Linked DNA regions of Homo sapiens: region 1 is linked to region 2. The links are contacts of gene promoters, found by promoter capture Hi-C in blood cells and fetal thymus (Javierre and others, 2016). All regions are on one chromosome and are shown on one strand. The core of a region is centred on a gene start or on the middle of the fragment in contact, and the rest is flanking DNA. Distances in the headings are between cores, read along the strand shown. Region 1 overlaps PSTPIP2 (proline-serine-threonine phosphatase interacting protein 2). Region 2 holds the start of PSTPIP2 (proline-serine-threonine phosphatase interacting protein 2).

Evidence for each region. Contacts are between HindIII fragments. The CHiCAGO score rates a contact against its expected background, and 5 or more counts as called.
Region 1: a contact is called between a fragment that was not itself captured here and the fragment with the promoter of PSTPIP2 in region 2, in 1 of 17 cell types (M1 macrophages). The highest score is 5.4, in M1 macrophages.

What each region holds. Positions count from the first base shown.
Region 1 is chr18:45,995,275-46,000,119 of GRCh38, reverse strand. PSTPIP2 (proline-serine-threonine phosphatase interacting protein 2) reads left to right here. Exons shown (of 15, transcript NM_024430.4): 7 at 586-684; 8 at 1,281-1,326; 9 at 2,292-2,371. Among named protein-coding and RNA genes, the nearest start is that of EPG5, 30 kb to the right of the region's middle. The HindIII fragment of the contact is 1,783 bases long and covers 1,810-3,592 here.
Region 2 is chr18:46,070,354-46,075,775 of GRCh38, reverse strand. It overlaps PSTPIP2 (proline-serine-threonine phosphatase interacting protein 2), which reads left to right and starts at 3,516. Exons shown (of 15, transcript NM_024430.4): 1 at 3,516-3,620. The coding sequence starts at 3,588. RefSeq lists silencers at 3,221-3,380, 3,511-3,560, 3,601-3,980 and enhancers at 3,110-3,611, 4,831-4,890, 4,931-5,030. The HindIII fragment of the contact is 16,135 bases long and covers 1-5,422 here.

The DNA of each region.
Region 1 (4,845 bases), core at 1,452-3,951, 75 kb after region 2:
TCGCCCAGGCTGGAGTGCAGTGGCATGATCATAGCTCACTGCAGCCTTGAACTCCTGGGCACAAGCGACCCTCCCAGCTCAGCCTCCCAAGTAGCTGGGACCACAGGTGTGTGCCACCATGCCTAGCTAAGTTTTGTGTTTTTTGTAGAGATGGGGTTTCATTCATTTTGCCCAGGCTTGTCTTGAACTTCTGGGCTCAAGCAATCCACCCACTTAAGCCTCTCAGAGTGTTGGGATTACAGGCGTGAGCCATGGTGCCTGGCCTTAATTTTGTCTATTTCAAATTCCATCTTTCGTTTCAGTCCATTTTTAAAGCTCATGTACTTTATGTTGCCAAATAGGAGCTATTACTTCCTTGATCAGGTTGCCACTATTACATAATTTGAAAAAGGGCTAGAGAGAGAGAGTGAGCTTTCAAAGACTGATAAGAAAAAGCATCTGCCCTCTGGGAGCCCATGGCTTAGTGACAATCAGAGCACTAATCAGACGGCCCTGTCCATGCTGGACTTCCTGGGCCAAGGGGGCTGCATTTCATGGTTACACTCTGTTCATTTGTTTTGGTTCTCTTTGTTCATAATGACAAAGGCAAAGAAGAACTATGAGCAGAAATGCCGGGACAAAGATGAGGCAGAACAGGCCGTCAGCCGGAGTGCCAACCTGGTGAACCCGAAGCAACAAGAAAAGGTACCCAGGAGGGCTAACAACCCGAAAAATCTGAGACTGACCTATGTCAGGCTAAAGCCAATTATGAATCTTCATAAGAAATGAACCTGTATCCTAAACCCCTGGAAATATCTTCCTTCATGTATTGGGGGTCTTCTGAACCTGAAAAACCACTGCCACATATTTGGGGGTTAGGGGAAGAGCGACAGAAGCATGGCTATGAGGGAGGGAGATGGGGTGATAAGAGGTTGGAGGGATTTCCCAGTTGTTGTCATTTTTCTTAAAGACTCAGTTCATGTATTCTTTGTAGTCAGGCTGCCTTTTGCTTGGGTGGATTACAAATTTAACTTTGTAAAATCTAGATACAAGATTTCTGCAACCAGAGGGCTGGGTGTGTCTTTAGGAAGACACTGGGCAAGATGCTTTATGGATATTTTCCAAGATTGATAAGATTGCAGGGCACGTTGAATGATTTGCTCATGAGGGAAATGTACACAGGACTTGCACTAGACCTGGTCTCTTCATAGTTACTGCTTTTCAATCTGTTTTGCCTGTGGAAGCCTCGTCCAGCATTCCCAATGCTTGCTCTTTTTTTGTTTGTTTGTTTGTTTTCACAGCTTTTTGTGAAACTGGCAACTTCAAAGACCGCAGTAGAGGACTCAGGTGAGGGGGCAGTTCCTACGGATGGGGGAGGGTTGCTGGTGGGGTTTACGTTATCCTAAATGTGTCCCTGAGAAAGGGAGTTTTATATACCTTAAAGAGAGAATATATGGATATTCAGCAGGATTAGTGAGATATCTGAAGGGAAAAAGGGAGGAAGGAAGGGAGAGAGTAAGGAAGGGAGGGAGGAAAGGAAAGAAGAGGAGAGAGGAAGGGAGGGTATATTAGAACCCCGGAAGGTGGGAGGAGGCTATGAGGCCACTGTTTCTGGCTTCTGTCTGCTTAGATCTTGCTGCCTTACATGGGAGTGAGATGGTGGAGTCATGTGGTAGCGGCTTTGCAATCAGGTGCTTCCTCTGATGTATTGGGGCATCTATCTAAAAGACCATTTCAGCCCCGGTAGCTCTTATCTGCTGTGAAACAGCCAAGCTGCAAGGCCTTGTTATCACTGAAATCTAAGACCCAAACCAGGCATTTGCAAAAGCTTCTAATTCCCAGAATATCCTGCAGGAAATATCCCTCATGACTGTGGTGGTTATGTACATCTTAATCTCTACATTTGAAACTAAAGTAACTTGGTGCCCCTTTAGGGCTCAAGGTAGTTCTCTTCTCTGCATCCTTCATCAGACAATTTTGAAAATGAAAAGCGATGGGAAATACTGAGGTGGAATTACACAAACAAAACCCTGGCTGAGGTTTCTTATCAGCTTTCACTTCTTCCTTAGAACCTTTCTTTCTCAATGTTAGGTCCAATGTTTAAAAAGAAAGTGATACCCTCCTTTGCCTACTTCACCAAATATGATGAGGGTGAGAGATGCAATAACTCCCAGTGCTCAGAGTCCTGGGGGCCTTGTAAGCTCAGCACAACTCGGATGAGTTTCTTTTGCCATCTGAGACCAGCCTGTGGGTGTATCTGCGAGCCACCTTCCTGTCTAGTTTCTGACCCAGGTCTCTCCCTTCTGTTGCAGACAAAGCATACATGCTGCACATCGGCACCCTGGATAAGGTCCGAGAAGAGTGGCAGAGTGAGCACATCAAGGCCTGCGAGGTACCCGTAACCGGAAGCTGCTCAGGACTGGGGTGGGTGGGTGGGGGTGTGTGTAACAGGAAGCTGCTCAGGACGGGGGGGGGAGGGGAGGAGGGGGAGGGGAGGGAGGGAAGGGGGAGTGGGGCCGGGGGTTGGGGGAGGACGAGGGGGCGGGAGGTGGGTCTTCTGCCCAGAACCTGGAGAGTCTACTTTTGTAGAAATGATCTGCCCGGATTCTCATAGGGTTACAGAGCTTGAGGGCAAATTAGAAATCAGAAATTTGGCCAGGCACGGTGGCCCATGCCTGTAATCCCAGCACTTTGGGAGGCCGAGGTGGGTGGATCACCTGAGGTCAGGAGTTCAAGACCATCTGGCCAACATGGTGAAACCCTGTCTCTACTAAAAATACAAAAATTAGCCGGGTGTGGTGGCGCACACCTGTAATCCCAGCTATTCTAGAGGCTGAGGCAGGAGTATAGCTTGAACCTGGGAGGCGGAAGTTGCAGTGAGCCAAGATAGTGCCATTGCACTCCAGCCTGGGCGACAGAACAAGACTCCGTCTCCAAGAAAACAAACAAACAAAAAAAGAAATCAGAAATTTAAGTGAAGAATGGAAGGAACTGGAATAGTTTTCCCCAAACCTTGTCTGCCTCATCCCCATCCTGACCATGCTGTCCAACAGTTCAAATTTTAGTCTAATGTTGGGTTAGCACAAGCATAGAATAGCTGAATCAGTTAATGGTCGATTAAGTAATTATCTTTGGAGAGCCCGGCCTCAATAGGCTCTAAAGGGAATGCCAACAGCAAGTGAGTAGGCTTTGGAGATTTGTTTGTTTGCTTTTTGTTTTGAGTCTGGGTCTCACTCTGTCGCCCAGGCTGGAGTGCAGTGGCATGATCAGAGCTCACTGCAGCCTGAAACCCCATGAGCTCAAGTGAAGTAGATGGGACTACAGGCGTGCACCACCACGCCTTGTTAATTATTTATTATTTATTTTATTTTTAAAGAGACAGGGACTTGCTCTGTTGCCCAGGCTGGTCTTGAGCTCCTGGGTCTCAAGCAATCCTTCCACCTTTGCCTCCTGAGTTGCCAGGGTTACAGGCATGAGCCACCATGCCTGGCTGGAGGGTTTTCTTTTTTTTTTTTACTCTCCTCATACCTTCAATTTCACCACTGCTCCCTTTCTTTTGCAGCAAATGACCTCACAATTTCCAAGAGAAAATAAAAAACATAACTTGGAAGCTTGCTTAAGTTTCTGTCATCCTGCCTACACATTTTCTTCCAGTGGTTCTCAAAGTGAGGTCCTAGGACTGGTAGCATCAGCATCACCTGGGAACTTGTTAGAAATGCAGGTTCTCAGACCAACCTCAGACCTACCGAATCAGAAACTCTGGGGGTAAAGCCCAGCAATCTCTGTGCTAATAAGCCTTCCAAGTGATTTTGATGGGAATTCAAGTATAAGAATCATTGACAGACACGCCTGCCCCACTCCTTTTTTCCTGTTAGCACAGAAAAGGGGCTGTTCCTTCCTTGTTCAAGATCTTTTTTCATCCAGCTTGCCTTTCCCCACCTTCTTGGGCATGGAGAACTTGTCAACTTCTGTTATCTTGCACACAGACTCAACTCTCTCCTAGCTTTAAAACCCACCAGTTCAGCCAGGCATGGTGGCTGCTAATGCCTGTAATCCCAGCACTTTGGGAGGCCAAGGCAGGCAGATCACCTGAGGTCAGGAGTTCAAGACCAGTCTGGACAACATAGTGAAACCCAGTCTCTACTAAAAATACAAAAATTAGCTGGATGTGGTGGCAAGCACCTGTAATCCCAGCTACTTGGGAGGCTGAGGTGGGAAAATCACTTGAGCCCGGGAGGTGGAGGTTTCAGTGAGCTGAGATCATGCCACTACACTCTAGCCTGGGCAACAGAGTTAGACTCCATCTCAAAAAAACCCAAAAAGCAAAAAACAAAACCAGCAGTTCTTACTTTCTATCTACGACCCCTACTACCCCCGCCCTTCTTCACAGCCACGCTTTTTGAAGGGGCTGTCTCCAAGTCCATGTTGTCCTGACTGCCCCAGCCTGCAGCATCTGGGATTTGCTTCCCTGCAGCTGCTGTCTTGGAGGGCACCAGAATCCCTTGGCATGAGGGCCAGTGGGCCTTTGCAGTTTCTAATCTTATTTGATCTCTCTTTGCCATCTGATACTGTAGGTTATTATGCTTCTCCTAAAACACTGTTTTCTGCTTTACTTCTGTAACTCCACACTCTTAGGGGAAAGCCTAGAATGAGGCCATTTTTTAATAAGGTTTAAAAACATGTAAAGCAATATCATGTACATATACAGATACATATATAGTGTAAAAACCTGCATAAAGGCCAGGTGCGGTGGCTCACACCTATAATCCCAGCACTTTCAGAGGCTGATGCGGGTGGATTGCTTGAGCCCAGGAGTTCAAGACCAGCCTGGGCAACACAGCGAAATTTTGTCTCTACAAAGAAATA
Region 2 (5,422 bases), core at 2,267-4,766:
TTCTTTTTTCTTCTCATTCTAGTGACAGCTTGTTTTGCCTTGTTTTTCACTTATTAATATATCTGATGATTGTTCCATATCAATACGCAAAGAGCTTCCTCATTTTTTATGCTTGAATATGATTTCATTGGATCGATATATGACAATATATTGAGCTAGTACTCCATGGATGGACATTAATTATTTCAAGTCTTTTGCCAAAATAACCACACTGCTATGAACAACTGTGTCATCTTTTACTTTGCATATGTGAGAATATATTTGTAAGGTAAGTTTTTTGACATGGACTTAATGGGTCAAAAGATAGGGGCATTTTACATTTTGATCACATGGCCAAATTTCTCTTCACAGATATTTTTATTTTATTTTATTTTGAGATGGAGTCTCACTCTGTCGCCCAGGCTAGAGTGCAGTGGTGCAAACTCAGCTCACTGTAACCTCCACCTCCCAGGCTCAAGCGATTCTCCTGGCTCAGCCTCCCGAGTAGGTGGGATTACAGGTGCTGCGCCACCTCCGCACGGCTAATTTTTGTATTTTTAGTAGAGACGGGGTTTCACCATGTTGACCAGGCTGGTCTCGAACTCCTGACCTCAAGTGATCTGCCTGCCTCAGCCTCCCAAAGTGCTGGGATTACAGATGTGAGCCACCCTGCCCAGCCCTTCACAGAGATTTTCAATTTTTATGTGCAAAATTGTCTGCTTATAAAGTGGCTAGCCCTGTATTCTATCAAACTTTTTGTTAGAAAAAATACATTGAGTGATTTTAGAAAATACTTATGAAATACTAAGTTAAAAAAGCAAGACTCAAAATTTTATGTACAGTAAGAACTTACTCTTGCAAATATATAGTTGAAAGAGAGTATGCCAAAATATTCACAGCGATTATCTTAAATGTATTATGTCTTAAATATATTAAATAATTTCATTATTTCATAATTGCTATAATATTGTTTAATTTTGTTAGTGTCTTAGTATGTTTTCTGTTGCTTATAACAGAGTATCTGACATCGGGTAGTTTATAAAGGAAAAGAATTTATTTCTCACAGTTATGAAGGCTGAAAAGTCCAAGGTTGAGGGGCCGCATTTGTGCCAGCCTTCTTGCTGGTAGGGACTCTGTGGCATGGGGTGTAACATGGCAAGGAGGTTGATCATGCTAGTTCAGGCCTCTCTTCCTCTTCTTCTTCTTTTTTTTTTTTTTTCTGAGATGGTGTCTCACTCTGTCTCGCCCAGGCTGGAGTGCAGTAGCACTCTCGGCTCACTGCAGCCTATGCCTCCTGGGTTCAAGCGATTCTCCTGTCTCACCCTCCCAAGTAGCTGGGACTACAGGCGTGTGCCGCCACACCCGGCTAATTTTGTATTTTTAATAGAGATGGGGTTACATCATGTTGGCCTGCCTGGTCTTGAACTCTTGACCTCAGGTGATCCACCTGCCTTGTCCTCCCAAAGTGCTGGGATTACAGGCATGAGCCACTGTGCCCAGCCATCTCTTCCTCTTCTTATAAAGCATAAAGCCACCAGTTTCATCTCCTGATAACCCATTAATCTACTAACCCATTAATCCATGAATGGGACTAGTGGCCCTCGTGACCCAATCACCTCTTAAAGATCCTACCTCTCTCAATACTGTCTCATTTCAGATTAAGTTTCAACAAGAATTCTTGGAGGGGGCAACATTCAAACCACAGAAGTTAGTAAAATATCCTAAATATGTCCCTTGGATATAGCACACACTTTGTTTGTTTTTTTACTCACAATACCTGCCCCAGAGATGAGCTGTTTGAGGAATGAAGAATATTTTCCAGCAGCGTGGATGACCATTTGCAATTAAAAACTTTGTCACCAGATGGCGGAAGAGGGTTAAAATTCAGGGAGCTTAGAGTCTGAGTCGCGAAAATCAAGCACAATGTACTGTGAGAGCTTGTGAAACGTTCTAATAACTTAAAATTATACATGTATTAAAAATTAAAATGTGACAATTAGAATTGTATCTAAACTATTTTTCCAGAATATTTAAAACTTCCAGGAAAAACCTTAGTGGTGTCTTCAGCTCTCCCGCTTCTATGTCCCCAGTTTGTGCCATTTCTTACCCCCTGCAGTTAAGCCTAGCTTCCTAGTGCCTACCACGTCCTCTGCTGCCCCTTGATGGTTCTGCCAGGCTTCTCTGCCTTCCTTCTAATCTCACTGCTTTCAAAGGATATGAGCAAGTACGTAAATGGATGCATCCCTTGGAGATGCTTGGTGGCTGGAGGCCACCTCTCCATCTTTGCAGTTGTGGATGACTTTATTGGTGGGAGTTCATCTGAGTGGGGCTGGCTGCAGTTTTATGGAGCAGAACTTGTTCCAGGTGCTTCACATAATTCTAGCAATTGCCCTTTCACTGTGTCTGGGTGTAGCTAGAACCTGCTCCAGGGGTGAGTGCTTGCTTCTCCAGGCTGGGCTGGTGCCAGTCTTGGCAACCTTGACCTTTATCCTCCCCACTTTGAGCACCTATTCCTCTGCCCAGGATGGATCTGCCCCAGGAAGGATGTCTGTCTTTGCATCTATTTAGAAGGGCAGAGCTCTAACCTTGAGCTCTTCATCCCTTAAATAAACTGTGATCTTGGGCAAGCCATTCAACCCCTCTGGGCCTCAGGTTGGGCTTCGGGCCTGTCGCACCAGGCAGTACTTTGTCATAAGCCCTGCATTACTATTAAAAGTCATGGCAAAAACCGCAATTACTTTTGTACCAATCTACTACAATGCAGAGAGGGGTCTGACCTGCCCTGGGGTTTTATTTGTGAGGGTGGAAGAGTGGAGGGAGAAGAAGGAATCTTGGGCCCCTCTTGCTGGGGTGGAATGGGCAGGGAAGGGTCTTGCCTTTTGAGAATGGAAAGGGAGTCAGAGAGCGGCTGAGCTCCTGGAAGCCCTGTTAGGACACCACCAAGTGACTAGAGTCAAGGGGAAACAGCAGAGATGACCTCTCCATGACATTTTAGACTAAAACGTGACCCCATTCATTAAAAACACCTGCAACAACAAAAAGTAAAATAAAAAATGAACCGTCCCCCAGGGCCTGATCTGCAGCAGGTGCCGGTGGGGCCCGCCGTGAAGCCAAGGCGTCTGCGGGAGTTGTCGGCCCCAGGCCTTCTGTAGCTTAAACCGGGTCCTCGCGACCATCTGATCAGATCCCGTCTATCACCCCGCAGAGCCTGGATTTCGTGCTGTCCAGGGGGCCTTGTGGGCAGGAACCCAAGCCAGGACCAGTTATTTCCAATACCCAAAGACTTCCAGAAGGAGGCAGCTAGCTTCGGGCTGATATATTGATCGTGGCCCGACGCTGTGGGGCTTTAAATGGGCCTGGGTCCGGGTGCGGGCTGCAGCCCCTGGCCGGGTGAGCGCCGAGGGTCCCGCCCAGGTCTCGCGCAGGGAGCGCAGAGCGCCGACGGCGGCCGTCGCAATCGGGAGTGGTTTAGGACCCGGGGGCGGCTTCCCTGCGCGAGTGTGGAACGCAGAAGTTGAGTCTGCGGAGCCGCGGGCAGTGGCAGTCAGGCCTCCCCGCTCTGTGCTACCTGCGGCCCGGCTCTCCTCCGCGCCCCCACTCGCGCTGCGATGACGCGCTCACTGTTCAAGGGAAACTTTTGGGTAAGTCGTGGGGCCGACAGCGGATCGCGGGGCTCAGGACCCGGCCCGGGCGGGAGGCCAACGCGGCGGGCGTGGGGGGCTCCCCAGCTCCGGCGCCACTCGGTGACCGCGCGCCCGGGGGCTTGGCGGAGCTCGCGCGTGAAGGGATCGGGGCCCCAGCCCCACTGCTCGAGGGGCAGACTTGGAGCGGACGCCGGGCTGCTGTTCCCTCTCTGTCCCCCGCTACCCACCGCGTGCCCGCGAGTCCCGGGGGCTCGGACTCCAGGGCCCACCCTCTGCCGCCCGCGCCCCCAGCAGCGCGTGCTCCTGAGGACGCAGAGAGCCGAGACACCTTAGAGTCAGGACATCAACCCCTCCTCTCACAGGCGAAGCAGAGACCCTTAGGGAGGCGAGACCCGTCCGGGGAGAGTCTCTGCCGGTCCCTGGAGCTGAGCCGTGAGAGGATCTGGGGGGATCTGGTGTGGGGGCTTGTGAGCTTTACCGGGTTGACAGCAGCAGCTGCCCCCCGGGATCGTCCTTTCCAGGAAACGTACAGCATAGAGGGCTTCCCTTTGCTGGAGCTTTCCCTGTTCTACAGCCTTGTTTCCCGAGCCCCCTCCCCAGGCCATTGCCCCAGCCCTTCCGTCCAGGCCCCATAGCGGGGCTGATGGTGTGGGAGACCCTATAAGCTGGAGGGGGTACCCCACCCAGCCCGGTAGGGCCAGCCCAGCCTGGAGGGAGCAGGTCTGCCTGTCCCCCTCCTCTGTCTAGTCCTCTTCCCTCTGTCCTCTCACTCCCCAGGTGCCCCTCAAGGTCCATGCCCCCTCATTCAGAGGAGCTGTCCTCATCCCTTTAAGACAGGAGCAGGAGGCTGCAAACCTCAAAGTTGACCGCAGCTGCCAAGGGGCCCTGACTCCTTACTGGGGCTCCTGCTTGCCTCCCCCCACCACCCACCCAGGTAGCTTCACAGCTGCCTAGATGGTCCCTCTACCCCACGTGGGCTGCAGGGTAGAGAAACCTGGCTGGGGACCTCAGGGACACAGTTGAGACTGTGCCTGTGAGTCCCTTCACTGGAGTTTGTGAGGTCCTTCTGGGGCACTACTCACCCTAGGGTGCAGGGTGGTGGCAGCCTCACAGAGGAACCAAGGGCACCACAGATGGCTCTCACGGGAGGCTTGCGAGTTTTTCAGGTAGAATGGAGGACTGGGGGATCCCATGGCAGGCACTGTGGGAAAAAGGCTCTGTATAATACAAACTGGAGAATGAGATGTGGGCCCCAGAAATAAGGAAGTCAGCAGAGGAACTGGTTCGTGGAGACATAAGGAGAAGGAGGCAGACGTGATACTAACAGTATTTAGTTCAGGCACAGTGGCTCATGCCTGTGATCCCAGCACGTTGGGAGGCCGAGGTAGGAGGATTGCTTGAGGCCAGGAGTTCGAGACCACCCTGGGCAACATAGTGAGACTCTGTCTGTCTCTACAAAAAAATCTTAAAAATTAGCTGGGCATGGTGGTGCATGCCTGTAGATATAGTTACTTGGGAGGCTGAGGCAAGAGGATTGCTTGAGGCCAGGAGTTTGAGGTTGCAGTGAGCTATGATCACATCACTGCACTCCAGCCTGGACGACAGAGTGATTTGTGTTTGTCTCAAAAACGAACAAACAAACAAACCCAACCAAACAACACAATCCTCAGTATTTAGCCACAGTTTTAGCACTGGCAAGGCTAAGGCCAGGCGGGCGCTAAGCCCCTCCCCACCAGCCTCCACCCCTCAGCCCCATGCCAGGGATGCTGGATACGGGGAGGTCTTAGCGGAGAGGGTGA